Regions from separate parts of the Homo sapiens genome. Here regions 1, 2, 4 and 5 are each linked to region 3. Evidence: promoter capture Hi-C in 16 types of primary human blood cells and fetal thymus (Javierre and others, 2016). All regions are on one chromosome and are shown on one strand. Each heading gives the region's core, a stretch centred on a gene start or on the middle of the fragment in contact. The rest is flanking DNA. Distances are from core to core; before and after follow the strand shown.

Evidence for each region. The method cuts DNA at HindIII sites, captures the fragments that hold promoters and counts their contacts. A CHiCAGO score of 5 or more calls a contact.
Region 1: a fragment that was not itself captured here is called in contact with the fragment with the promoter of MRPL15 in region 3 in 1 of 17 cell types (naive CD8 T cells); the score reaches 5.4 in naive CD8 T cells.
Region 2: a contact is called between a fragment that was not itself captured here and the fragment with the promoter of MRPL15 in region 3, in 2 of 17 cell types (naive CD8 T cells and non-activated CD4 T cells). The highest score is 6.1, in naive CD8 T cells.
Region 4: a fragment that was not itself captured here is called in contact with the fragment with the promoter of MRPL15 in region 3 in 3 of 17 cell types (naive CD8 T cells, naive CD4 T cells and total CD4 T cells); the score reaches 5.5 in naive CD8 T cells.
Region 5: a fragment that was not itself captured here is called in contact with the fragment with the promoter of MRPL15 in region 3 in 9 of 17 cell types (non-activated CD4 T cells, total CD8 T cells, naive CD8 T cells and 6 more); the score reaches 11.3 in non-activated CD4 T cells.

Annotation. Positions count from the first base shown.
Region 1 is chr8:52,785,364-52,790,583 of GRCh38, reverse strand. No RefSeq gene overlaps it. Among named protein-coding and RNA genes, the nearest start is that of RB1CC1, 74 kb to the right of the region's middle. The HindIII fragment of the contact is 3,696 bases long and covers 302-3,997 here.
Region 2 is chr8:52,957,022-52,962,151 of GRCh38, reverse strand. No RefSeq gene overlaps it. Among named protein-coding and RNA genes, the nearest start is that of NPBWR1, 20 kb to the right of the region's middle. The HindIII fragment of the contact is 6,943 bases long and covers 1-5,130 here.
Region 3 is chr8:54,131,192-54,136,897 of GRCh38, reverse strand. It overlaps MRPL15 (mitochondrial ribosomal protein L15), which reads right to left and starts at 1,657. Exons shown (of 5, transcript NM_014175.4): 1 at 1,507-1,657; 2 at 233-387. The coding sequence starts at 1,614. The HindIII fragment of the contact is 13,913 bases long and covers 1-5,706 here.
Region 4 is chr8:52,939,968-52,945,587 of GRCh38, reverse strand. NPBWR1 (neuropeptides B and W receptor 1) reads right to left here. Exons shown (of 2, transcript NM_005285.5): 2 at 1,854-5,620. The coding sequence ends at 4,694. Among named protein-coding and RNA genes, the nearest start is that of NPBWR1, 3.6 kb to the right of the region's middle. RefSeq lists enhancers at 4,968-5,599, 5,600-5,620. The HindIII fragment of the contact is 5,917 bases long and covers 242-5,620 here.
Region 5 is chr8:52,721,320-52,726,833 of GRCh38, reverse strand. No RefSeq gene overlaps it. Among named protein-coding and RNA genes, the nearest start is that of RB1CC1, 9.6 kb to the right of the region's middle. The HindIII fragment of the contact is 374 bases long and covers 3,856-4,229 here.

The sequences.
Region 1 (5,220 bases), core at 900-3,399, 1.3 Mb after region 3:
CATGAAAGCTTGGCCTGGAGTCCACTCTGGGAGAATGTCAGCAGTCCTGCTGAACCACAGTGAATGATGTTCCTGAGAGAGCTATAGGGACCATAGTTCCACAGGGGGGTTTCACTTATGGCAGAGAGGTGAGGAGTGATGTGATCGGTCACTGACCAGGATGAGCACGTTATTCATTTAATGATCTGTGAACTGATTCCTGGCAGTGATGTCAGTACTTTATAAAATTACTCACAAATTAATGTATCATGGTAACAATTGAAATTTTAACTGTGTTGTTAGAAGCCTGGCTTATTAAGCTTAACTATGGTAACTGATATTCACGCCTACTGAAACCAAGCACAACAAGGACTGCCTGTATTTGTTTTTGACTTATGTGTGCCAATAATGTGGGAAAATCTTAGGGAGAGTGTAGGACCTAATCCCTACCTCCTTCCTCCCATTTCCATGCAAAACCTTTCCTTTACCTGCTTGCCATGGTAGGTAGAATTCTGCTATGATGGTCAGCCAACCCTTAGTGCTCATAAATTGCCTTCATTTGAACAACATTTATTGAGTACACAATGTTCTACACACAAGGAGTATAGTGAAAAACAGGTAGAGATGGCCCCTTGCAAATGGAGCAGATATTTCAGTGGAGTCAGAAAACAAAATGAACAAATCCATCTAAAGCATGATTTCTAACTGTGAAACTCTCTTTGAAAAAATAGAAAAGGTGATGATAAAAGAGAGGCCTCTGTGGGTGGGGAGGAAGCTATTCAAGGTTGAAGGGTTAACAGAGACCCCTCTGAGATTCCGAATGAGCAAGCACCCTGCATGATGGGAAAGAAGTAGGTTACAGCAAATGAGAATAAAAATGCATTTGGAGTGTCTTAGAAAAGCAAGAATGGTGTCTGGGTCCCACGAGCAAGGAGTAGAGTAATAGGACATGAAATAGGAGAGCTGGGCCAGATCACGGGTTTCACAGGCCATGGCAAGGAGTTTGGGTTCATTCTAACTACAACAGGAAAACACTGAACATTTTTATGCAAAGGACTGGCAGGATAAGAGCTTTGTTTAGATGGAAATATATCTCTGATGGGTGACAAGCTGTTGCTAGTTGGAAATAGAAATGATAATTCTGTAGCTGAGCAGAGAGAAATAATTTGGGATGATGGGTGCCAGCCACACTGAGTAAGCCGAATTGGGACACTGCAGTGCAGGGATGGGGGATGTTCCAGGGTGCCAAGGACCAGCATGAAGACAATGGGCACCTTCTGGGCAGGAGGCAGAAACACACTGCCAATTTACCCTCCTGGCTGGGTGATCCTGGCCAGCAGCAATCATTGCACAGGAGACATAGAAGCTGCCTACCAAAATGGCATTCTTGCTACCCTGAAAATTGCTATTGTTTGGCATCCTTTTTTCATTTTTCATCCTTTGTCACTAACCCAGATCTCCTATACCCAATGGAGTTAGGAGGCAGCTAAGAAAGAAGATGTAGGAGTGAGAGGCAGGAGAAATGATCCCTTAACTCTGTTTCCAAAATCTCTGAAGGAAGTTGAATCTTTCCCCGGTGCTTTGACTCCTGAAAGTAAATCTGGAGTTCTGTAAACGTGGAAGAAATCAGACAGAGAATCTTTTCTATAATACTATAAAATTGTCACCCATTGTAGTGCCTAGGTGGCTTAGCTGGGCCCCCTCTCTGCTTTTGTTGCCCAATGTAATGCCTACATGACATAGCTAAATTCCTACTGGGCTTTAACTCTGCTTATTTTTAGGAAGCAGGATGCCTGTGGTCATTAGTTCCTTCTTAGAACTAAACTGGCTGAAACTGGTGAAACCCAGTATGGCCGCCTACTTGACCTCTGAAGAACCTCTAGCTTCATTATAATCCAATTTCTATGCTAAGTGACACTCCCACCAGCACCATGACAGCTGACAATCACTATGACAATAACCAGAAAAGACCAAGAAAGGACAAAAAAGGCAGCTCCCTGTTCTAGGAAAATCTTCATTGCTTCCCAAAAAAACCATGAATGTTCCTCCCCTTGCTCTTAATGCCCAACCCCTTCAGTGAAGATACCCTGAATTTGTAATTTCCTGGTTCTCAGAAACTGAGAAATTGATTTGCAAGCTACGGTCCCACTTCTCCAATTCCTTGGCCTTAGAATAAAGCCTGCACTGCTTGACACTTTCGGCTTTTTGTATTATCTTCACAACACTGAACAGGAAAGAGCCCTTTTTGGGGTATCCAGGACCCCCGGTGACAAAACGAGGTCCTTTTGTTAGCAGAACTCCTTTAGGTAGGGTGAGGGAATGGAGACTGCTTGGATTTTTGAAGTCAACCAAGCTCAGATTTAAATTCAAATTCATTTATTTGAACATCAGTTTCTACTTTGCGTGGAAAATGGGTTTTAGGATGACAATGTTCCTCTGGAGATCGAATGAGACAAATGCTATATATAGTATATGAAAATTTCTGCACATAATGAGTGTTAAATAAATATTTAGTATATAAAATACAGAATATATGAAAATCCCAGGCCAGGTGTGGTGGTTCACACCTGTAATCCCAGCACTTTGGGAGGCTGTGGCGGGCAAATCACTTGAGGTCAGGAGTTCAAGACCGGCATGGCCAACATGGTGAAACGTTGTCTCTACTAAAAATACAAAAATTAGCCAGGTATGGTTTGTGGTAGATGCCTGTAATCCCAGCTACTCAGGAGGTTGAGGCAGGAGAATCACTTGAACCCAGGAGGTGGAGGTTGTAGTGAGCCGAGATTGCACCACTGAACTCCAGCCTGGGCGTCAGAGCCAGACTGTGTCACAAAAAAAAAAAAAAAAAAAAAAGAAAAGAAAAGAAAAGAAAATCCCTGGCATCTAGTAAGTGTCCAATTAGATTGTCCTTCTTCCACTTGCCACCCATTTACTTCCCCTCCTTCCCTTGAACAGGATGCATGACAGGTCCAGACTATACTAAATTTTCCTTAGTATTAAAGTATTATTCTAAAGTTTAGCCTTTAGAATAAAGTTGGGGGGGAAGGAACAATTAGAAAGTCAATGGAAACATTCAACTTTGAGCAGTGCTGGGGGAGGCAGATAGAGGATCCAATCAATACTCCCTTTGTAGTGCTGTTTTGTGTAGCAGTTTGTTAAAATGATGGCTATCGCATTCAACCCTGTCCCAGCCCCGAAGCAGTAGTAGTCAATTCCATATGCACGAAGCACTTTGGCGCAGATGTTTTGTGAACTGCACTGGGGGGAAGAGGGCCCTCCAGGCAGGCAGGCTCATGAAAACATTCTAAACTTTTTAAAAGATCAAATGACTGTGAAATTGAGTTAAATGTTAAAATCAGAATGCCAAGCTAGTCAAGAATCTGGAATGGTCATCCAGCTAATGTCTTTCTGCCCAAACAGGTTAAGACCCCAAAGATTACTGACATTCAGTTGAACAGATATTTAATAGTACACATACTATATTCTAGATAATAAGCTATGCAGTGAGACTGCACACAAGGGGAGGGAAGAAGACTCTAAATATCTGGTAATAAATTACTTTTCCATTTAATAATCCTTATTAAAATTGTCTCTGACTCCTTATTATTATTATTTTTGAGACAAAAAATACAAAAATTAGCCAGGCACAGTGGCGTGCGCTTGTAATCCCAGCTATTCAGGAGGCTGAGGCAGGAGGATCTTGAACCCAGAAGGTGGAGGCTACAGTGAGCTGAGATCACGCCACTGCACTCCAGCCTGGGCAACAAGTAAGACTCCATCTCAAAAAATAAAATAAATAAAGAACTGAAACACTATCGATTATAAGGGGAAGTGTACTGATGTCTGCAATTTACTTTGAAATGAATAAAAAGCCAAGATGAGTTGATGGATGAGAAAGGGATGGACAGACTGATAGCCATGCAATAAAGTAACTATAGTAAAATATTAATTGTAAAATCTAGGTTGTGCATATATAGGTATATACTGTAAAATTCTTTCAACTTCTCTGCTAGAAGCTTCCTATGATAAAAATATGAAGAAAATGAATAATTATACTTCCTATACATTTAGAATTAATATAGCACTATATGAATAACATTATAAGCATTCACCTGGGATTGTCTACATCTTTCAAATCTTTGGCCATATTTGGCATTGCCAATCATGTTTCCAACCAGTCACCCCTCTTTATATTTGCATAGTTTATTTTTTCACCTATGTGCTCTCTATTCAAACTCATTAAGAGGCATCATGAGAATTATAGATCATGCTTCCATCTTTATGGTCATTTTGAAACCATATACTTGTCAACCCCCCACACTCACCCCCTCACCAGGACTGTGGTTTTTCCAGGACTATTTATCCTGTCTGATCTTTGCATAGGCAGTGGGAAAATGGCAGTCTCCTGGGTTGGTCAATGGCCAGCTTATTTGCCTGGGTGCCTAATTTCAACAGAGTCATCATGTTGAGATTATTTTTAGCCCCATAACTTTTTCAACCAGCAGGTACCTCACACACTAAATGGCTCCCTGCTCTTGCCTTTCTCAACAGGGTCTTCTAATGAAACTATTATATGTCTTACTTATGGTGTCACGATCAGTCAGAGGTAAAATGAAGAGAGAAATCCAAGCTTTCTGATTTCACAAAGGTCCTTCCCATTAGTCCCCACTCATCTAAATTGCCTTGAACTCATTTTAAAAAGAAAAAGAGAGTGCAGATAAGGAAACGGTTTGCCCTCATGTGACTAATTTAGACAAAATAAATATTATTTCCATGGTTACCTGTGCAAATAATGTTCTACAGGAATACATTCACTCCATCATCTTATGAAGTGCAGCAGGACTTCTGTGTAGTTAGAAGGCTGGTGTCTGTCAGTAAAGTTGTCATAGAAGGGACCAAATCCAGCAGCCTGGAGGCCAACAGCCAGGGGACATCAGGATTTTTAGATGAATAGACATGGATGGGGAGCGAGTGTCAGCTAGGAAAGGAGGGAGTAGAGTAATAAAAATGATGGTGAGACCAGTATTGTAATCTCTTCAGTTTTGTAATGCTATTTTCTTTCTTTCTTTCTTTCTTTTTTTTTTGAGATGGAGTTTCACTCTTTCCCTCAGGCTGGAATGAAGTGGCACAATCTCGGCTCACTGCAACCTCCGCCTCCCAAGTTCAAACAATTCTTCTGCCTCAGCCTTCCAAGTAGTTGGGATTATAGGTGCCTGCCACTACATTCAGCTAATTTTTGTA
Region 2 (5,130 bases), core at 774-3,273, 1.2 Mb after region 3:
TCCACAGTGTGGAAGGGGACCTGAACAGGTTGCCACTGCTGGCTCGGGCAGCCTACTTTTATTCCCTTATCTGGCCCCACCCACATCCTCTTGATTGGTCCATTTTACAGAAAGCTGATTGGTCTGTTTTGACAGGGTGCTGATTGATGCGTTTATAGTCCCTGAGCTAGACACAAAAGTTCTCCAAGTCCCCACTAGATTAGCTAGACACAGAGCACTGATTGGTGCATTTAAAAACCTTGAGCTAGACACAGGGTGCTGATTGGTGTGTTTACAATCCCTTAGCTAGATATAAAAGTTCTCCAAGTCCCCACTAGACTCAGGAGCCCAGCTGGCTTCACCTAGTGGATCCCGCACCAGGGCCGCAGGCAGAGCTGCCCGCCAGTCCCGTGCCTTGTGCCCACATTCCTCAGCCCTTGGACGGTTGATGGGACTGCGTGCCATGGAGCAGGGTGCAGTGATCGTCAGGGAGGCTCGGCCCTGCAGGAGCCCACAGCAGGGGGGAGGCTTGTGGATGATGGGCTGCAGGTCCCGAGCCCTGCCCTGCGGGGAGGCAGCTGAGCCGGCAGGCCCACACTGCTGGGGGACCTGGTGGACCCTCTGCAGCTGCTGGCCTGAGTGCTAAGCCTCTCACTGCCTGGGGCCAGTGGCACCGGCCGGCCGCTCTGAGTGCGGGGCCTGCCGAGCCCATGCCCACCCAGAACTCGCACTGGCCAAAAAGCGCTGTGCACAGCCCCAGTATCACCCACAACTCTCACTCCACACATCCCCGCAAGCAGAGGGAGACGGCTCCAGCCTCTGCCAGTCCAGAGAGTAGATCCCACAGTGCAGCGGTGGGCTGAAGGGCTCCTCAAGTGTGGCCAGAGTGGGCACCAAGGCCAAGGAGGCACCAAGAGTGAGCGAGGGCTGCCAGCATGCTGTCACCTCTCAATCCACCCTCTAAACAGGACACCCCAACTACTGTTGGGAATTTGGCCGATGACCACTCTAGCTAATTCCTGTTGGATGGGGTGATGAAGGGGCCCTGTAGTTGTAGTGTTCTCCAGAGGGGAACTCTCTAGGGCAGTGAAAGTGCCCACGAGTCAGTCCAGGGTCCTCGGTAGAAGTCGTTAGTTGAACTCATTTGGGGTTCCATTTGTAAGACCATCTGTAAGTTGATGACCTCAATTCTAGAGGAAACAAATTTGACAAGAAGGTTAAAAATACAGGGTCCAAAGGTGAGTAACAGCAAGATGGCTGCCACGGGACCTAGAAAGGGGAGAAGCCACGTTGCCCAGCTCCAGAGGTTGGTATAAGAATTTGAAAGGCGTTGCCTGATTTCAGAAGCCTTTTCCTGTAAATGCCGGGTGGCATCTTGTACTATCTCCGACTGGTTAGTGTAAAAACAACACTCTTCCCCTAAGAAGGTGCAGAGTCCTCCTTTCTCAGCAGTGAGGAGGTCTAGGCCTCAGCAGTTTTGGAGAGTCACTGCTGCCGAAGAGTCTATTTGGGATTGTAAAGTAAGGATAGTTTTTTTATTTCTTGCAAACTGTCTGAGAAATCCTTTCAGAGTGTGTAGGATAATGAAGTAGATAAACCAGCTATTCTGTTTCCTGTAGCAGTAGCCATTCCTAACCCTATAAGTAAGGGTATTAGTAGTATGGCTCTTCGCTGACAGACTTGAGCTTTGAGGGGTACTGATAGGGTTTGATTTCCTGGGGCAATGTTAATGTTGTGACTTAGAAAGACTAAGGTGCAGGTGTCGGTCCAGTTAGTGGGGAGGCAGATATAAGTCAGTGTTCCACATAAGAACAATATGCCTTGTCTGGGTAGACAGAAATTTACCCTGACTTTTAAAGGAATAGGGTACACTGTTTTTTTCTTTACTACTTCCATTTCTCTTTCTTTCTCTTTGACTTCTTCTTTGTCTCTTTCTCTCTTTTTGACTCTCTCCTTGACTTTCTCTTTGACTTTCTCTTTGACTTTCTGTGTCTGTCTCTCTCTCTCTCTCCTTTTCTTTCTCTCTGTTTCTTCCTCTCTCTCTCTTTGACTTTCTGTCTCTTTCCTTTCTGCTGCCTCCACCAGCTGCTCATGCTGCTGTTCTCCCCTCTCCTTCCCCTCTTTGATGGCTTTGGCAGTGTAAGACTGCCACCTCCTTGGATTTTTGCATTACGTGCAATAACTCCGTAGTTTCCTTTTGATGCTCAATGGGGGTTCCCCCAGAAGTCAGGAACTCCCTTTCTTTCTATATTCAGCATGGACATGTAGGATTAGATAAGCATACTTGCTGTCTGTATACACACTTATTCTTTTTCCCTTTCCCAGTTCTGAGGCTCCGGAAAGTGTCACTAGTTCCGCTAACTGGGCACTGGTCCCTGGGGGAAGAGGCTTACATTCAAGTATGGTTACATCACTAACTATGGCATAACCTGTCCTTCGTATCCCATTCTCTACAAATGAACTTCCATCAGTATATAGGTTAAGGTCAGGATTAGCTAAGGGGACTTTTAAGAGATCATCTCAGGTGGCATAAGTCTGGAGTATAATTTGTTGGCACTCATGCTCAATTGGTTCCCCATCCTCTGGGAGAAAAGTGGCAGGGTTGAGGGCCACGCATGTGTGTATTTGAAGCACCAGTCCCTCAAGGAGTAGCGCCTGGTATCTAAGTAGGTGGTTGTCTGATAGCCATAAACTCCATAAACTTCCTTTGGCAACTAGTATGCCATTTACATCATGAGTAGTACAGACAGTGAGATCCTTTCCTTGTATCATTTTGATAGCCTCTGACACTAAGATGGCCACTGCTGCAACTACCCATAAACAGTGAGGCCAGCCTTTTGCTACTACATCAATTTCCTTACTTAGTTGTGCCACTGGTTGTGGAGTTGTCCCACGAGTCTGAGTAAGGACTCCAAGAGCTATCCCTGCTCTCTCTGTGACATATAAAGAAAAGTTTTGTCCTGTAAGAAGGCTTAAAGCTGGATCTTGTACTAGGGCCTGCTTTAAGGTTTTGAAGGCTGTTTCTGCCTCTGGTTCCCATTCTACTAGATGAGTATTTGCCCTCTGGGTTTCCTTGATTACAGTATAGAGGGGTGTGGCTATCTCGCTGTATCCGAGGATCCATAGTAGGGAAAAGCCGGTACTTCCAAGGAACCCCCACAACTGTTTTAATGTCTTAGGGTGAAGATAAGCCAGTATAGGCTGTATTCATTCCTTGCTGATGGCCCTGGTCCTGCTGGCTAAGATTAAGCCTAGATATTTGGCCTGCTGTAGGCAAAGCTGGGCCTTTGACCTAGACACCTTATACCCTTGATTAGCTAGAAAGTTCAAGAGATCTAGAGTAGCCTGCTGGCAGGAGGCTTCCGAACTGGTAGCCAAAAGTAAATCATCCACATACTGAAGGACCAGACTGCCTGGACTTGAGAAGTGGCCTAGATCTTGGGCCAGTGCCTGATCAAACAGATGAGGGCTATCCCTAAACCCTTGGGGCAAGACCGTCCACATAAGTTGGGATGTTTGGTCTGTGGGATCCTCAAAGGCAAAGAGAAACTGGGAGTCAGAGTGCAGGGGAATACAGAAGGAATCCTTGAGGTCCAGAACTGTGAACCATTCTGCTTCCTCTGGTATCTGAGAGAGCAGGGTATAGGGGTTGGGTATAACTCGATGTAGAGGAATTACTGCCTCATTGATGAGTCTAAGATCTTGCACTAGTCTCCACTGACCATTCAGGTTTTGTATTCCTAGAATTGGGGTGTTGCAGGGACTGCTGCATTTCCTTACTAAGCCTTGAGCTTTCAAATGTTTAACAATATTCTGTAATCCTTTATGAGCTTCAGACCTTAAGGGATATTGCCTTTGATAAGGAAAAGCGGTGGGATCTTTTAACCTGATTTGGACTGGGTGGGCATTTTTTGCCCTTCCAAATTGTCCTTCCAAAGCCCAGACTTCAGGGTTGATTCCCTCTTCAAGTAGGGGACAACAAATGGGTAACTTGTTCCCCATATTCATGTAGATAATAGCTCAGCCTTAGCTAATATATCCTTCCCTAATAAGGGTGTGGGACTTTCAGGCATAACAAGAAAGGCATGTGAAAAGGGCAAAGTCCCCCAAATACAACGGAGGAGGTGGGAGAAATACGTGGTTACAGGCTGTCCCAGGATTCCTCAGATGGTAACAGACCTTGAGGACAGTTGTCCAGGACAGGAGATTAACACTGAGAAGGCTATGCCAGTGTCCAGGAGGAAGTCAATTTCCTGGCCGTTAATGGTTAAAGGTACCCGGGGCTCAGAGAGGGTGAAGATATGAGCTGGTGCTTGCCCTGGGCACCCTCAGTCCTGTTGTTGGATCATCTGGTTGGGGACTTCTGACCCAGAGAACCCTCATCCTCTGGGGCAGCGCACCTTCCAGTGATTGCCTCAGCATAGTGGACATGGACGAGGGGGGCAGCTTGTTTCTCATTGGACAATCTTTTTTAAGGTGTCCTAGTAAACCACACTGATAACAAGCCCTACCAGGTGATTGGCCTGCTCCATTTTCTGTCCTCCCTGAACCACCAAGGTTTGTTTGTCTGAGGGCCATGACCAAGGCTGTGGCCTTTCTCTGATCTTGTTTTTCCTTTTGGGCCTATTTCTCTTGGTCCCTATTATAGAACACCAAGGTTGCCAGGTTTTAAAATGCCTCCAGATTTTTTTCAGGGCCCAGGGCTTACTTTTGGAACTTTCTCCTGATATCTGCACCTGGGGCTGATTGGGTAATAAATTTATCTTTTAGAATCAATTGACCCTCAAATGATTCAGGTGACAGGGGAATATATTTTCTTAAGGCCTCCCATAGCCGCTCAAGGAAGACAGAAGGATTTTCTTCCTTTCCCTGAGTTATGGTGGACATCATTGAATAATTCATGGGCTTTTTCCTAATTCTCTTTAGTCCTTCTAGAACACAGGTCAACAGATGTTTATGACTCCAGTCCCCATGATCTGAGTCGAGGTCCCAGTGGGGATCCATACTGGGGATGACTTGCTGACTGGTAGGGAATTTTTCCCTTTTGTTTGACTGTCATTCTATAATTTACTTGACTAAGATACCAGGTATCTCCAAACTCTCAGGCTGCAGCCAAAACCACATTCTTTTCATTAAAGGCCAGGGTTTGAT
Region 3 (5,706 bases), core at 408-2,907:
TAGAGCTGGCATTAGAATCTCCATTTTGCAGGTCTAAGTGCAGTGTCTGGGCCTCTTTTCCTTTTAATAATCCAGGCAAGATTTCATTACCAAAAAATGGTTCAGGGGAACAGTAGCAAAAGTTTGCTTCAAAGTGAATTTACAATTTCCACCAAAATTTCTACCAAACTATTTTTAGGTGCTTTTTAATGGAAATTGGGGACCTGTACTTTAAAAAGCAAAGCAACCTTACCTATGTCCTTCGTTAAACCCGTATTTTGGGATTCGGATGTAAAATGGAGTCTGGCCTCCCTCAAAGCCCAAGCGGGGCCGGGTTCCTCTTTGCCTTTCTCCTTTATGGCCTCTGCCACATTTTCTACCTCTTCTCCGACCTCTTGGTCTTCTCTCCTGCAAGGAAAAAAAAGAATTTTATGAATTTCAGATGCATTTCTAAAAACTGCATTTCAGCTCTTCACTTTTTGTTATGCTGTTCATTCATCCAGCCCACCAGTGCTAGCTAACACTATTGTGTCAAGCATGTCCTAGTTGCTCAAAGCTCCACACACTCTGTTAGCATCTTTGCCTCTAAAGACATAGCTAATTCTTGTAACCAAAGTCCAAGTGTGTTTCAAAAGCAAAAAGTAAAGGTTAGGATGGGGATAAGGTTTTTATAATAGGTTGAAACCGAAAAAAATCCTAGAATTAAATATTCACAACATTTTAAATGATAGGCAAGAATTTATTCTGAAATTAATTGTAAATATGCAAATGTTATTCATAAACCTGTAATTTTATTTGAAAACTGATCTGTTGAAGAAAATCTTTTCCTTAATTTCCTGTCATTTCACGAAAGCAATGAACTGACTGTTAAAATGACAGTACATTGTCAACTAACAGCTTTTCTAGCTCTATTTAGTCAACTGCAGAAGGGACAGCTGCAATTCAGATCTTTCCAATGAACATAAAGATACACCGGGAAAACATTTCATTTTAAATCCAATTTTGAATGACACAAAGACTTTGTAGTTTCAGCGAGTCGGCTTCTCCGCCTGGTATCTTTACACTTGTAAACATAACCTTATTAAGAACTGGGTGCGGCCGGGGGCGGTGGCTCACGCCTGTAATCCCAGCACTTTGGGAGGCCGAGGCAGGCGGATCGCGAGCTCAGGAGTTCAAAACCAGCCTGGCCAACACGGTGAAACCACGTCTCTACTAAAAATACAAAAATTAGCCGGGCGTGATGGCGGGCGCCTGTAATCCCAGCTAATCGGGAGGCTGAGGCAGGAGAATTGCTTCTGGGCGACAGAGCAAGCCTCCGTCTCGGAAAAAAAAAAAAAAAAAAAAAAAAGAACTGGGTGCACGTGGAAAGATTCCCCTCTGGGCAGTAAGGGAGAACAGGCATGAGGCAATCCTATTTTCATCCCAACACTCTCCTAGAAAGGGCAGTTCTCCTAATGACAGGGAGAGAAGGGCCGCTTTCATCGCCCGGGTCCCCAGCGCTTCCCCGCACCGCCACCACCCATTTACCGGTTTCTTGGAGCCGGGATTCGGCTTTAAGTTGGCCAGGCTCACACGCGGCAGGCCCCGGAGTAGGTCCAGGGCCCGGGCCCCACCGCCCTGCAAGGGACCGGCCATAACCCGCAGATCCAAGAACTTTCAAGGGCGCCCTGAGCTGCTCGGAGGCCACGTGGTCTCGGGGGCTGCTTTGTGGCCGTGGCCCCGCCCCTGTCGCGCTGCAGCCGCGCGCGCAAGCCCGGGAGTCGGGCAGAGGCGTGGGAGTCTGCAACCTTGTCTCGGTTGTCCTTTTAGTTGTTTGGGGATGTGATCTTATTTTCCGAGATCCTGCTTTGTCCTCGGGGTCCCTTTTAATATTCTGAACGTAAAACCTTCTCTTTCGCCAAACGAGAGCATGCACTAAAAACACTGCGTTAAATAAAGGATCTTTTTTGAGTCAGTGTTGGGCCTTGCCTGTTTGTCTAGGCCGTGTCTTCTCTGAGGTCAATGCAGAACCCAGAGTAAAGCAAAGTGAGCTGTCAATTATTAGCTTTTGAGCTTGCGTAATTATACACCGTGAGGTACGAAAATAAAACTGAGTGCACCTATCAAAATGCCTGGCTAATAACCAATCTTTGAATAAGACTCAAAGTGTGAACTCTCATCCGTGTGCATCTGTATTGTTTTGAGTGAATCGCAGTTAGTAACCACCTATTGTTAATGACTGGCGCCATACTGAATGCCTGGTGTATGCCAGACGCTGTATTAAATAAGCCTTACTCGATTTACAGCCATTCTAGAGGTAAATGGTGTTACTACATTTTACAGTTACAACAGGGAAGGCTTAGCAAGGTCCGATAGCTTGACCAACTTCTTGCAACAAGCGGCAGAGCCAGGATTCAAACGTACACTGCTTCCTACTATAAAAGTAGTATTTTTAGAATGTAAAATTGAGTATCTGCATCACAAAATACGAACATTATTACTCGAAAAATACCAGCTCTTCTTTTTTCTCTCAAGTGACTTAAATATAGAAAAGACTGTTCCTTTCTTTTTCTTTCTTTTAGTAGTGGTTTGACATTTCACTTGCTGGGGAGTTTTTTCTGCTAGCTCTAACTAGTAATCACAAATAATGAAGGTGAGACAATTTTTGGAGGGCGTCTGTCTCTAGGTATAACTGCGTCTTTTTAAAGTTCCTTTAAATCAAGTGTAAAATAACTACATAAAGAAAAAGTTGTATTCATTCCTTCAAGTACTATTTATAAGTAAGACACTGAACTTGTTGGAAATACACATGGATGAACTCAAATAGGATTTCATTCCCAAGTTGTTTGAAATCTAGTAGGGAACAGTTTCCAAAAGTGAATTATTATTATTATTATTTTGAGACAGAGTCTCGCTCTGTTGCTTAGGCTAGAGTGCAATGGTTCAATCTCAGCTCACTGCAACCTCTGCCTCTCTGGTTCAAGCAATTCTTCCGCCTCCGCCTCCTGAGTAGCTGGGATTACAGGCGTTCACCAGCACGCCCCGCTAATTTTTTTTTGTATGTTTAGTAGAGACGGGTTTTCGCCATGTTGGCCAGGCTGGTCTCCAACTCCTGGCCTCAGGTGATCCCCCTGCCTCGGCCTCCCAAAGTGCTGGGATTACAGGCGTGAGCCACGGCGCCTGGCCCGTGAATGTTTTTTAAAAGTTAAAGATAAAAGTAGGCCTCTTGTAGACTAATTAGCAAAAACAAAATATGTGAGTTCGATAAAATGATATGATGGTAAAGTCTAGACTCTATTTAGAAGCACAGAAGAAATAGAATGGGGTGTGGGGGGCAATAGAACCTATTTTCTGCCTTTAATGATTTTTGGTTTGTTTGTTTGAAATGGAATCTCACTCTGTCGCCCAGGCTGGAGTGCAGTAGCGCCATCTCGGCTCACTGCAGGCTCCTCACCCAGGTTCAAGCGATTCTCCTGCCTCAGCCTCCCCAGTAGCTGAGATTACAGGCATGCACCACAACGTACAGCTTTTTTAGTTTGTTTGTTTGGTTGGTTTTTTAGTAGAGACTGGGTTTCACCACGTTGGCCAGGCTTGTCTGAAACTCCTAACCTCAAATGATCCACCTGCCTTGGCCTCCCAAAGTGCTGGGATTACAGGTGTGAGCCACTGAGTCCAGCCTGCCTTTAGTGATTTTTAATTCAGTAGTTTTCATTGTGTTTTTATTAAACTTTCCTACCTTTGGGAAGAAAATTGCAAAATATAATTGCAAACTGTACCCTAATCTACAGAAAAGTGCACAATTATTTTCAATCCCCAAAAAATCATTGTTTGCATTAAGTAATGAACTTCTTGATTAAGTGTTAATGCCAGTAATGTTTTTTATCATGGAAAATTTTTTTATTGAATAAATAAAATACAAGAAATATGCTGCACTTCTTGGAAGTAGAAGTCGTATGGGTTATATAATGTTATTGGTGGACATCAGTTAATAATAATGGGAATAACAATTGTTGACAGTTAATTGTAGGCTACGTGTTTGTTTATCCCATATCCAACATGTTGATTAAGCATATAAAACTGTCAAAATAATTTGATGAGTTTCGTTTGTGTTGTAAGAATGTAAATTAAGGGTGTGTGGTCAATAAGTCAACAATCCTTACCTTAAGTATATAGTAGTTTTATGTCATCCTCATAATTGCACAAGTCATATTTATTACCCACCTACATGCTTGGGATGTGCTAAATCCTGTTTAAATCAAGTTAACAAGAACTTGTAATAAAAACATTAATATCTCAACAACTATTTAAGGTCCATCCTGATTCCAACCCCAGTTGATAATAACTGCTGAATCATTACATAATAACAATGAAGCCGGGCGCAGTGGCTCACGCCTGTAATCCCAGCACTTTGGGAAGCTAAGGCAGGCGGATCACCTGAGGCTGGGAGTTCGAGACCAGCCTGACCAACATGGAGAAACGCCATCTCTAATAAAAATACAAAATTAGCTGGGAGTGGTAGTGCATACCTGTAATCCCAGCTACTCAGGAGGCTGAGGCAGGAGAATCGCTTGAACCCCGGAGGCGGAAGTTGTGGTGAGCCAAGATCACGCCATTGCACTCCAGCCTGGGCCACAAGAGCAAAACTCTGTCTGAAAAAAAAAAAAAAAAAAGAATGAAGTGATACAATTTGAACTGCTTTGGAAGACTTCACACACTGCCACGAAATCTTCCCCAATCTATATATATATCAGCACCTGACAGTGTGTTAACATAGATTAATTCCTTTGAGTTAATTATTTTTCTAAAAAAAAGTTTTTTTGCCGGGCGCGGTGGCTCATGCCTGTAATCCCAGCTCTTTGGGAGGCCAAGGTGAGCGAATCACGAGATCAGGAGTTCGAGAACAGTGTGACCAACATAGTGAAACCCCGTCTCTACTAAAAATACAAAAATTAACCAGGCATGGTGGCATGAGCCTGTAATCCCAGCTACTCAGGAGGCTGAGACAGGAGAATTGCTTGAAATCCCAGGAGGCAGAGGTTGCAGTGAGCCAAGATCAGCCTGGGCAACAGAGCGAAACTCCATCTCAAAAAAAAAAAAGAAAATTTCAGGATTAGCAGAGAAGGGGACTGGGAAATGAAAATAAAAGGGAATAGGCTGGACACAGTGGCTCACACCTGTAATCCTAGTAAACCCAGAAATTTGGGAGGCCCAGGTGGGTGAATCACTTGAGGTCAGGAGTTTGAGACAAGCCTGGCCAACATGGTGAAACCCATGTCTACAAAAAATACAAACATTAGCTGGGCATGGTGGCAGGTGTCTGTAGTCCCAGCTACTCAGGAGGCTGAGGCAGGAGAATCACTAAAACCCAGGAGGAGGAGGTCGCAGTGAGCTGAGATTGTGCCACTGTACTCCAGCCTGGGCAACAGGGCAAGACTCCTCTCAAAAAAAAAAAGTTGAGCAGAAAATAACTGGAGAAGCAATATTCCTAAGTGAAGGTGGGAGAAAGCCAGAGGCAGGAGAACAATGAATCCCTTTGATATTGGGAGAAAACTAATATTGAGAGAAGGCTATGAAGAGGGCATGGAAAGGGGCTGGAAATAAATGTCCCCTTGATAAAACTTAACTAATTTTGCCTTGATAAAACTTGGTTCCAACCTAAAGGTCTTTATTCACACCTAAATAGGTTTTAATTTTATTGAAGTATTGTAATGCCTACATATGTTGAAAAAATCAGATAGTACAGAAGGG
Region 4 (5,620 bases), core at 1,951-4,450, 1.2 Mb after region 3:
CCTCTGTAAAGAGAATAAATAGAATGTAGCAATGAAGAGTGGTATTTTTATTGGAAGAGAGGAGTTAAAGGAATCAAAATAGTATTATGTAGGAAAATGTGGATAATTCACTTGGTACTTTTGCAGGTGTAAATATTTACATCTTTTCAGGTTTGATTGCTGCATTCACACCACAGTTACTGTATAGGGCTGGTCTTTCTTCCTCTACCAGATCATTCATCACTGCCTAAAGGAAGAAGCTTCTTTGGCAAATGGATGAATCATTTAAGATGTCCGTTTTGTTGTTACTATTTAGCATTCACAAATGATTTGCCCCTCACCTTTGGGAACTCTGGCAATTTCTCCCACATTTTTGACTATGCAAACACCCACTCTTTCCGTGGTAAACGGTGGCCTGGTTATTGCAGTTGTGACTCTGGCCCTTGGGTTACCTCAGAATGGGGGTGAGTTAACCTTCTGGTCGAACAATATGAGAAGATCCAGATTTTACAGGAAGATGGTGAGCCGCTCCCTGGGTCTTGGCCCAACAGAGCATCAGGTCTGTGTGCACTATTGCCCCCCAGGCCCAAGAGAAATCTTCTGGACTGTGGGAAGCATGCAGTTCATGCATTCTGACAGTTTCTGAGCAATATCATTTTAAATTTCCTTCCCTTTTTCCATCTTTTATTTTTATTTAACATGATGTCACCAATGTAACCTTATGAGATATGGTATAAACAAATACATTTCCCTTGCCCTAAATTCAAGGACAGCATCATCCATTGCAAAGCTCCATTCTACAGAGTACAGCCATCATTAGCATTGTCTCCTATATGAATAGTCCCTCTGGGGCACAGTTCCACGTACATAAAGCGTGGAGGCTGCTATGCACATGGTGCCTTTGTGTGACAGCTCTGTTAGGAATTTTTATTCTCATATAACTTTCAACAATCCCATACACTTTGTAAGTCTCTGAATTAAGATTGAAGTTTTATAATATTAAATCTTACCCTCCCTTTATCTCGTATGAGCTAATGGTAGATACAGCTTGCTTAATCTACTAAATATTTAAAAGACATCATTGTTTTCTAGTCTAATATTTCCAAATTACACATTGCAACGAATTCCATCTCTGCTGAAACAAGATGACACAATTCCTAGAATAGAATGGGAACTGGGTGGCTCTGATTGGTCTTCACTGATCTTTGTGGGCCTGGCTAAATTGATCCACTTCCTTGTATCTCACTTTCTTTGTATGTAAAATGGGGGCCGAAGTGCCAGACCCAAAGCTGTGCTAATAAAAGACCATTATGGGCAGAATTCTCTGATCTCTTTCTTAATGTGCATAAGCATAGATGATTAATATCCAAGGAGAGTTTACTGTTTTTTTGTCTTGCTGTTGTTTTCCCAGCATGTTGCTGAGGAAAGAAGGGTTTATAATAAGTTCGTGAGTTTTTCAGGTGAGATTCTCCACCTTGCATATTTGTGCTATGTCTATGCATATTGCTGATAGCAATGTGTATACTAATAATTGAAGCAATTTCTCTTCCCTTCTCCCCCTCCACATAGCTGCTCAAATATTTAAGAAATGAGGCTTTTGATGGTATGATAGAAGTTTAGCATCCTTTCTCTGCCCAGCATAAGTTCTGGAATCTCTGTGTTTATCAGCAGCTTTGCATCATTTTCACAATCAACCAAATTAAGGGGTGGGGGTGTTCATTCTTAATTTTGTCCTGTCAAATACTTCTATTTATTCATTGAGTATTCATTGGATCACTTTTCCAATGAAGGCAGTATTTTTAAATAGTAACACTGCACAAATGCTAAGGTGACTTAATTGTGGATAACTTGTTCTCAGAAAATAGAATGTTCACTTATCACACAGAATGTTTCAGCTTTTATTTTAAACTGAGCTCCTCTACAATGGACTACAGAGTTTCTGCGTTTGTCAAGAGAAAACATAAGCATACACATTACATAACTGCACTAAATTAAGTAAAAGCAAATAGACATTTTTAACTATTCAAAGTGGTAAAACCAAACCATAGAGTTTACACAGAAACTGCAAGAATTCAACACAGTGTTAAAACCTTTGCAATACAATGATGTGAATAAATTCTACTTTTGCCTGGCTTATGTGTGTATTTATTCAACCGATTACCCAAGACATAAAAAGGAAGCCTGAGATATACAGTCTACATGCTCGTATGAAGGGCAACGACCTAGAAATAATGATACAACAGTTTATCCAGTGATCAGAAAGCCCAGGAGGAACTCAACTGCTGAGACCTGATTAATCCCACAGGCATACTCAGAAGCCAGTCCATGCCTTGCTGGGGATGAACAGCAATGTCAGCCCGTGTATTTTTCCAGCAGTCATCTCCATAGATTCCAAGAAGGCTCGAGGTCAATCTACTGTAGGGATGAAACAGTGGACAGATGGATCACTCAGCTGTCCCCCATCTGAGTCCAGTTACTGAGCTTATTAAGACAGATGAGATACTGAATCCAGACAATCACTCCAGCTGTGTTTGTAGCCAAATGTTCACCTTACTCTTTGTCCATCACCTTAGGTAATCTAGAAGTTACTCTAAGTTTAAAACTTTAATTTTGAAAAGTTACAGAGGATTCATGAGATAATTTTGAGAGTTTAAGGAAAATCAATAGAATGTTTCCTAGAAATTCGAAAGATATTAAAATGAATTCCAAGAAGCCTCCGAAGCCGGCCAGCAGAGAGAGGCCTGTTCAAATGCCATGAGGTCCACCACTCGAAACTCATTGTAGATGAAAACTTTCTTTTAAACAATTTACTATTATTTGCCACCCAAGACAGAAGGTTTTTTAATGTATATTTTCTAAACTGATGGCTATGAATTATTTCAATGTTCCTAAAAACTCTGAGAGCTAAGAAAGCAATTCTTATTCACCAAAATTAGAGAGGGGGTTTGCTTCCCCCCATTCCAAGGGGGAGTTTTTTCCTTCCAAATATTTATTAAAAGCTATTTTCAACCTAAATAATTGAGAAATTGATTGAAGATGCCAAACTAAGCAAACAAAATGTGCTGCAACACTCACATTTTTTTTTCTCACACATGACATAGGAAACAAACATTTGTAGAAATTTTCATCCTGTTTGGACTTCATCCTAAAGATTAATACCTTTTAAAACACCATAATCAATTACCAGACTTTGCTTAGGGTTCGGCCCTCATGTCTAAGGCTAAACTGCAGAGGATTGGGCAAACCCAATGCCAGTCCTCTCTCTTAATCCACTTTGTCTTCCATATGCAGAGACAAAAACACAGGTAGGATGCTGGCCAATCTCCCTGGTGACTCCAGGACCAGTATTTACCCGGTTTACCGGGACTACCTACCGGATGCCGTCTACAAGTAAGGAATAAAGCCCAGGTAATCCACAGCTCCCTGTGAAAAGTACAGCAGAGAAAACCTGAAGCCGTCGGTCATCCCTGCTTCCTGCTCTCCCTAAGGCGGAGCCAAGGAAGCAGAGGAGAAAGGGAACACAAGAGAATAGATCGCATTTCTTTTTATCTTATTTGATCTTCATGGCAACTCGTGAGATTAGGACATGTACATTATTTATAAAGTTTTCAGTCCTGAAAAACAGTACACACATGAACAGTTACAACAAACTGATCTAAGTAAGACAAGAGACGAGGCCAATTGGGGGAATGGGGGTGGGGCTTGGCATCCTCTATAAGCAACGATGACCAGTGTGCCACAGCGCTGTGAAGCGCGCTCAGCCGGAGTGCTCCACCACAAAGCCCCGCGATCCTCCGACGCTAAGCACTCGGCCGCTGGCTCCTCCAGGGGGCGCCGGAACCGCGCGCCCGGGCTACTCCGGGTTCCTTGCTCCGGGAGTCTGACATTTTCAGGGGAGATCACGGATAGGAAAGGGAAAAGGCAAAGAAAAGGAGTAGGGGCAGACAGAAAGAAGGATCACTATTCGTATCATATTCTAGGCAGTCACTGCCAAGCGCCAGCCTCTTTCCCCGCATTTCATGCCTCCGCAAACGCGCGCACACCACACACACACACACACAGGTGTATACACACTCCGATGGGGCATCCCGAGTTGTTGTGTTTTCCCCAGTTGAAGAGGCGCTGGCGGCCTCGGCAGCGGTCCCCGCCCGCGGCGCCAGGCCAAGCGGGTCTCACAGGGGTGGGCGCCAAACGCGCGCGCCTGACCGTCTTCCCAGAGCGCGCGGAGGACAAGGGGACCCGCCGGGGCTGTGCGCCAGCTACAGCAGGGGCCGCGCGGAGCCGACGCCTGGGGGCGCCGGCAGCGTCCTCGGGCCTCCCTTCGAAGGCGCGGAGAGTTCCGACTCCAGCCAGGTTCCAGACTGCCAGGGCTCGGGTGGGGCAGCAGGGAGCAGGGCAGGGAGGGGGCGGTTCCCAGCAATACCGCCCTCCTCCTCTACCCTCCTCTTCCTCCACCTCGGCTTTAGGGAGCCCTCAGTGTGGCGATCTCAGCCTCAGTTCTCCTCACCCGGCATGGCCGCGCATCACCTGGAGGGCTTGGCAAGGTCAACCTGCGGGCACAGTCGCAGCGCTTCCGATCTGCTAGGTCGGGTATGGGGCGCGAGTCGGTTTCCCCAGGAGGCCTAGGCGGCCTGTCTGGTCCCGCACTCTGGCGCCGGCTCCTCCCTCGCTGGCCAGGAGTGGCGGGCAGTTGCGGAGCCGGACGCTGGGGGAGTCAGGCTGCCGCGCGGCAAGTTATCAGCTGGCGGAGGTTCCTGCGGAAGCTGGCGTCCAGGAAGGCGTAGAGGAAGGGGTTGAGGCAGCTGTTGGCGTAGCTCAGGCTGGTGATGAAGTAGGAGATAGCGATGACCAGCGGCGTCTGCGGGAGGTCGGTGGTGAGCGCCACCACGGTGCTCAGGTGGTAGGGCGTCCAGCAGAGGAGGCACACCGCCAGGATTGCCACCACCAGGAAGGTCACCCGCTTCTTGGCGCGCTCCAGGGCCTTGGCGTGGCTGTCCAGCCGCATGGCATGCAGCCGGCACAGCAGGGTGGTATAGAGGACACAGATGGTGGACACGGGGATGGCGAAGCCCAGCACGAGCGTGTAGAGGCGGCTCGCGCGCCACCAGAAGGCCTCGGGCTGCGGAAAGACTAGCACGCACTGGCGCCGGCCCTGCTCGTCGTCTAGCCGGGCGAAGACTGCGAAGGGCAGCACGACGAGTGTGACGATCCCCCACACGGCCAGGCTCACCGCGCGCGCGGCGCTGTAGGTGCGGCCGGCCACCCGGCGCGACTCCGCAGTGGCCAACACCACCAGGTAGCGGTCGGCGCTCATGACGGTGAGGAAGTAGAGGCTGGAGAAGGTGTTGTACTGGTCGATAGCCACGATGAGCTTGCACATGAGCTCCCCGAAGGGCCACTGCCGCAGCAGGAAGTCGGCGATGTTGATGGGCAGCACCAGCGTGAAGAGCTCGTCGGCGATGGCCAGGTTGAGGATGAACAGGTTGGTGACGGTCTTCATGCGGGGCGCCCGCAGCAACACGTACAGCACGGCGGAGTTGCCCGCCAGACCCACGGCGCAGATCACCGCGTAGACAACTGGTACAGCCACCGCCAGCGGCGCCGGCAGCGGCGCCAGAGTCGACGCGTTGGAGCAGCTCAG
Region 5 (5,514 bases), core at 2,793-5,292, 1.4 Mb after region 3:
TCTCCAGCCTCAGCCTCCTGAGTAGCTGAGACCACAGGCGTGAGCCCCCACATAGGGTAATTTTTGTAGAGATGGGGTCTCGCCATGATGCTCAGGCTGGTCTTGAAATCCTGAGCTCAAACTGATGCCTCCCCAAATGCTGGGATTACAGGCATGAGCTACCATGCCCGGCCTCTTTTCACTTTCTTGATGATATCTTTTGAAGCACAAAAGTTTTTAATTTGGATAAGGTCCAATTTATCTAATTGTGTGTGTGTGTTAAGTGTGCTTTTAGTGTAATATCTAAGACACCATTGCCTAATACAAAGCTGAAGAGATGTACTCCTGTTTTCTTCTAAGAATTTTATAGTTTTAGCTATTAAAGTCTTTGGTCCAGTTTGAGATCATTTTGTCTATGGTATGAGTGCCACTGTATTGTTTTGCATGTGGATATTCAGTTTTCCCAGCACTATTTATTGAGAAGGCTCTTCCTTCCTCCTTTGAAATATCCTTTTCTGTTTTTTGAGTGTCTTGCTCTGTCGACCAGGCTGGTGTGCAGTGGCATGATCATGGCTCACTGTAGCCTCCACCTCCTGAGCTCAAGCAATCCTCCCACCACAGACTCCCAAGTGGCTGGGCTGCAGGCTCACACCACCATGCTTGGCTAATTTTTAATTTTTTTTTTTTTTTTTTTTTTTTTTTTTTTTAGTAGAGACAGTATCACTATGTTGCCCAGGCTGGTGTTGAACTCCTGGCCTCAAGCGATCCTCCTGCCTCAGCCTCCCAGAGTGCTAGGATTACAGGCCTGTGCTACAGAGCCTGGCCTATTTTATTATTATTATTTTTTGCTAGTCCTTGATTCAGGAGAAAAATCAATTGACTTTAAACTTAGTTCATTTCTGGACTTTCAATTCTATTCGATCTGTCTGATCTTATGCCAGTACTACACTATCTTGATTACTGTGACTTTGTAGAAAAGTTTTGAAATTGGGAAGAGAATGTTTCACAGATTTTTTTTTTTTTTTTTGAGATGGAGTCTCACTGTGTTGCCCAGGCTGGAGTGCAATGGTGCAATCTTGGCTCACTGCAAACTCCGCCTCCCGGGTTCAAGTGATTCTTATGCCTCAGCCTCCCGAGTAGCTGAGATTACAGATGCCTGCCACCACATCCAGCTAATTTTTGTATTTTTGGTAGAGACAGGGTTTCACCATGTTGGCCAGGCTGGTCTTGAACTCCTGACCTCAAGTGATCTGCTTGCCTTGGCCTCCCAAAGTGTTGGGATTACAGGCATGAACCACTGCGCCTGGCCTCTCAATTGCATTTTAATTGTTTATTGCTATTGTACAGAAATACAACAAAATATTTTCAAGTAAAAACAATACTTCTGAAGCAGTTATATGAAATAGGAAAAAGATAATTTTTTAAAGTCACTTAATGTGGACTTTAACATTTTTACTTATTTTGAATCTGTACTACCCACTGTGTTGAGGACATATCATAACTTTTTTTTTTTTTTTTTTTTTTTTGAGACGGAGTCTCGCTCTGTCACCCAGGCTGGAGCACAGTGGCACAATCTTGGCTCACTGCAACATCCGATTCCCTGGTTCAAGCAATTCTGCCTCAGCCTCCCAAGTAGCTGAGATTACAGGCATGCACCACCACGCCCAACTAATTTTTGTATTTTTAGTAGAGATGGGGTTTCACCATGTTGGCCAGGAGGGTCTTGATCTCCTGACTTTGTGATCCACCCGTCTTGGCCTCCCAGAGTACTTGGATTACAGGCGTGAGCCACCACACCTGGCCTCCTAACTTCTTAATAAAGCCTAGCTGAACCTTCTTCCAGAAAACCTGTCATTTTCAGTTCATTTCTTGGTGATATTGAATTTTTTTTAAAAAAAATCTTAAAACAGGAGCATAAAATTGCTCTTGAGAGCCTTAAATATGGTAGGGAAAATACAAGCATTTCACACAAGTATCTCTTTGGTCAGCTTCCAGAACTCTGGGAGTAGAAAAAAATGAAAGGAGAGGAGACAAAAAGCCTATAACATGAATGTAAACGGTAAGAAAGATGTGAACTTTAAAAATATTTTATGGCAATTCTTTTCACAAAATGTTTTAAATGTAACTAGATGTTTGTACTAAAATACAAGCACTTCATACATTTTAAAAACCACTGGAGTTAGATTTTTCAAAAAGTGTTGATTGGCTAATGTAAAATTTCTGTAGGGACCGTACAAATGTCAGAGCTACAGTATATTTTACATGCGATTTTTCATTCTAACCTATAGAACAATGTGAGGTAGCTAAAGTAGATATTGCCAACACAGTTTCAAAATGAGGAACTTGAATTTATAGATGTTAACTGATTTTCCAAATCCAAATGAAGTCCCAGATTTTCCAACTCCTTAATGCAGCCAACTTATGATGTATGTGTATAAACTATATACACATATTTTAAAAATTAAGGCACATCTGAGAATTATATGAGTTCAAATTAATCCATAATAAGCATACAAACACATAGAAAGCTTTGTGTGTAGATTAGGATTTTTCTGAGGAGCTTATTTCAAGGGAGGGGCGACATCTATTGACAGAAAGAAGATTGAGCAGGACTGTGAGGATTTTTAAAAATTTAGTCTTGTTTCTCAAAGCCATTCCTTGTATTAGAATTCCCCCTAGAACTTATTAAAAAATGAAGAGCCCTGAGCCCTGCCAGTGGTGAAGTGTATTTGACACTCAGAGTAGATAATTTTTTAACATCCCATTCCTCTATAGTTTCAGTAACAATAGAACAACAATAATAGTAATGGTTAGAAAAGAAATTGACAGCAAAATTTTTTAACTGAAACTTTAATCAAGGCAGTCAAAATTTAAAAGTTAAAAAAAAAAAAGCCACACAAATATTACAAAACCAAAAAGAAAAAATCTATACTACTTGATAGTTTTGAGATCTGCCTAGGAGTTTTAACTTTGACCCTTTGTTAAAAAGTCATTTTATGTAAACAATTGTCCAGCAACTAATAAGTGAATTTCAATAACATCTACAAGATATAATTTGTTTCTACTAAATCATATTGATGATAGAGTGTTTTACTTCTTGATTTTTAATTTTAAATGAATAAACAATGAAACCGGATAAATTTCAATTTTAAAGATATTTAAGTTTTGTAAGGTATGTCACACATGAACTAAATTTTGTACTTAGTAAGTGGTTCCACAGAATGACAGAATGAGATGGTAAAATGAGATGGAGTCAAAAACCCACGACTACCTTAAATAGAAGGGACAGAATAGTGACTGTTGGAGAGAATTTGTGGATGCAAATAGGTTTGCAGATTTCAGGGCAGAAGAGGAAGTTCTTTTCTCATGGCTTCTATTTCCTCAGTGTTGTAGGAGGTGAGATTATTTACCAAAGAGAGAACTGGGAAGGGGTGGGAATTAGGGATTCAAGAATAGTGCAGACAATCTGATGGAGAGTAGGAAGAGTGAACTACTAGGGAAACAACACAGAAGGCTGAGGTAGAATTGGAACCCACGTTTCCAGACATTCAGTTCAGTGGTCCTTTTAATACATCATACTGAAAAGGAATGACTATTGGGAAAAGTATTTTGCATGAATGGATAGCAGGTAGGGTTGATTAAAACAAAGGGATCATTTGAGGAAGAAGGCAAAAAAACAAATGGTGTTATTAAAATAAATGGACTTCAGAGAATTGGGAAAAAAGCATTCATTTTATATGATAAACAACAGAACTCGTTTTAAGTTACAAAAGACTAATGGTACATTTTTCAAAAATATGTAGTCTGGAAAATGAAGAAAAATATACACATAGGAAAAATCACTTAGAATTTAATTTTGTACTTACTTAGAAAGCTTTCTTAGACTTCATTAGACACATTTTTATTATATTGCCCATACATAAAAATGAAAATACAAGCAAATTACATTGGTAAAGGTATTTCTAAAATTTCATCACTTTTGAACTATTACTTCCGACTCAGAGATTGTCTGGGTTTTTCCACAGAATTTATCCTTTGCAGCACTGAAAGCACTGGCAACAAGCATTTCCTTACAGAATCCATAAAAGAACTAAAGCTGTGGTGCTAGGTACCTAGCTGTCTTTGGGAATGTTGTACAACACATCTTATTCATCAATTCTCTCACCATTATAGTTTGGATTTTTTTCCAATCTGGTGTTTTTGATGTCTTATAGTAAGCACAGGAAATGGATGGCATTGGTTGACAAGCTTGGAGGACCACTATCCATCCACTGTTAAATGGACCCAGATTTCAGAGATGTTAAAATACGAAACATAGTAAAACAGAGTAGCTTGCTACTTTGTTTTCCTTTGTCTTTAAATATTTTTTGGTTGGGCAGAGTGGTTCACGCCTGTAATCCCAACACTTTGGGAGGCTAAGGTGAAAGGAGAGCCTGAACCCAGGAGTTTGAGACCAGCCTGGGCAACATGGTGAAACCCTGTCTCTACAAAAAATACAAAAATTTGCCAGGCATGGTGGTGGGCATCTGTAGTTACAGCTATTAGGGACAGTGAGGTGGAAGGATTGCTTGAGCCTGGGAGGTTGAGGCTGCAACAAGCCGTGGGTGTGCCAATGCATTACAGCCTGGGTGAGAGAGTGAGACCCTATCTCAAAACAAAAAAAAAATTAATATACATATTTTTACAATTTTTTTAGAATAGGGTCTCACTTTGTTGCCCAGGATGGAGTACAGTGGTGTGGTCATGGTTCACTGTAGCTTTAAACTCCTTGGCTCGAGCAATCCTCCCACCTCAGCCTCCCAAGTAGCTGAGACTAGAGGAGTGCACCACCACACAGAGCTATATTTTTATTTTATTTTTATTTTTATTTTTTTTATTCTCTCTGTCGCCCAGGCTGGAGTGCAGTGGTGCGATCTCGGCTCACTGCAAGCTCCGCCTCCTAGGTTCACGCCATCCTCCTGCCTCAGCCTCCCGAGCACGCCCGGCTAACTTATTTTTGTACTTTTAGTAGAGACAGGGTTTCACCATGTTAGCCAGGATGGTCTCGATCTCCTGACCTCGTGATCCACCCGCCTCGGCCTCCCAAAGTGCTGGGATTACAGGCGTGAGCCACCGCGCCTGGTCTATATTTTTACTTTTATTTTTGTAGAGACAGGGTTTCGCTATGTTGTCCAAGCTGGTCTCAAACTCCTGGCCTCAAGTGATTCTCCTACCTCAGCCTACCAGAGTGCTGAGATTACAGGTGTGAGCCACCATGCCAGGCCTGTTTTAAATATTCTTCTAAAATATAATATTAATGGCTGCATAGTATTTCATTATATAGATGTACCACGTTTTCCCTGAATTCTGAGAAAGGGGTTGATTTTGTCCCTCTGGGAACATTACAAAATGTCCAGAGGCATTTTTGATTGTCATAACTGGGGTGCTACTGGCATCTAGTGGGCAGAAGCCAAGGAGGTTCAACATCCTAAAATGTACAGGACAGCCCCTTATAACAAAGAATTAACTGGTAGGTATGAGATTGAGAAACTCTGT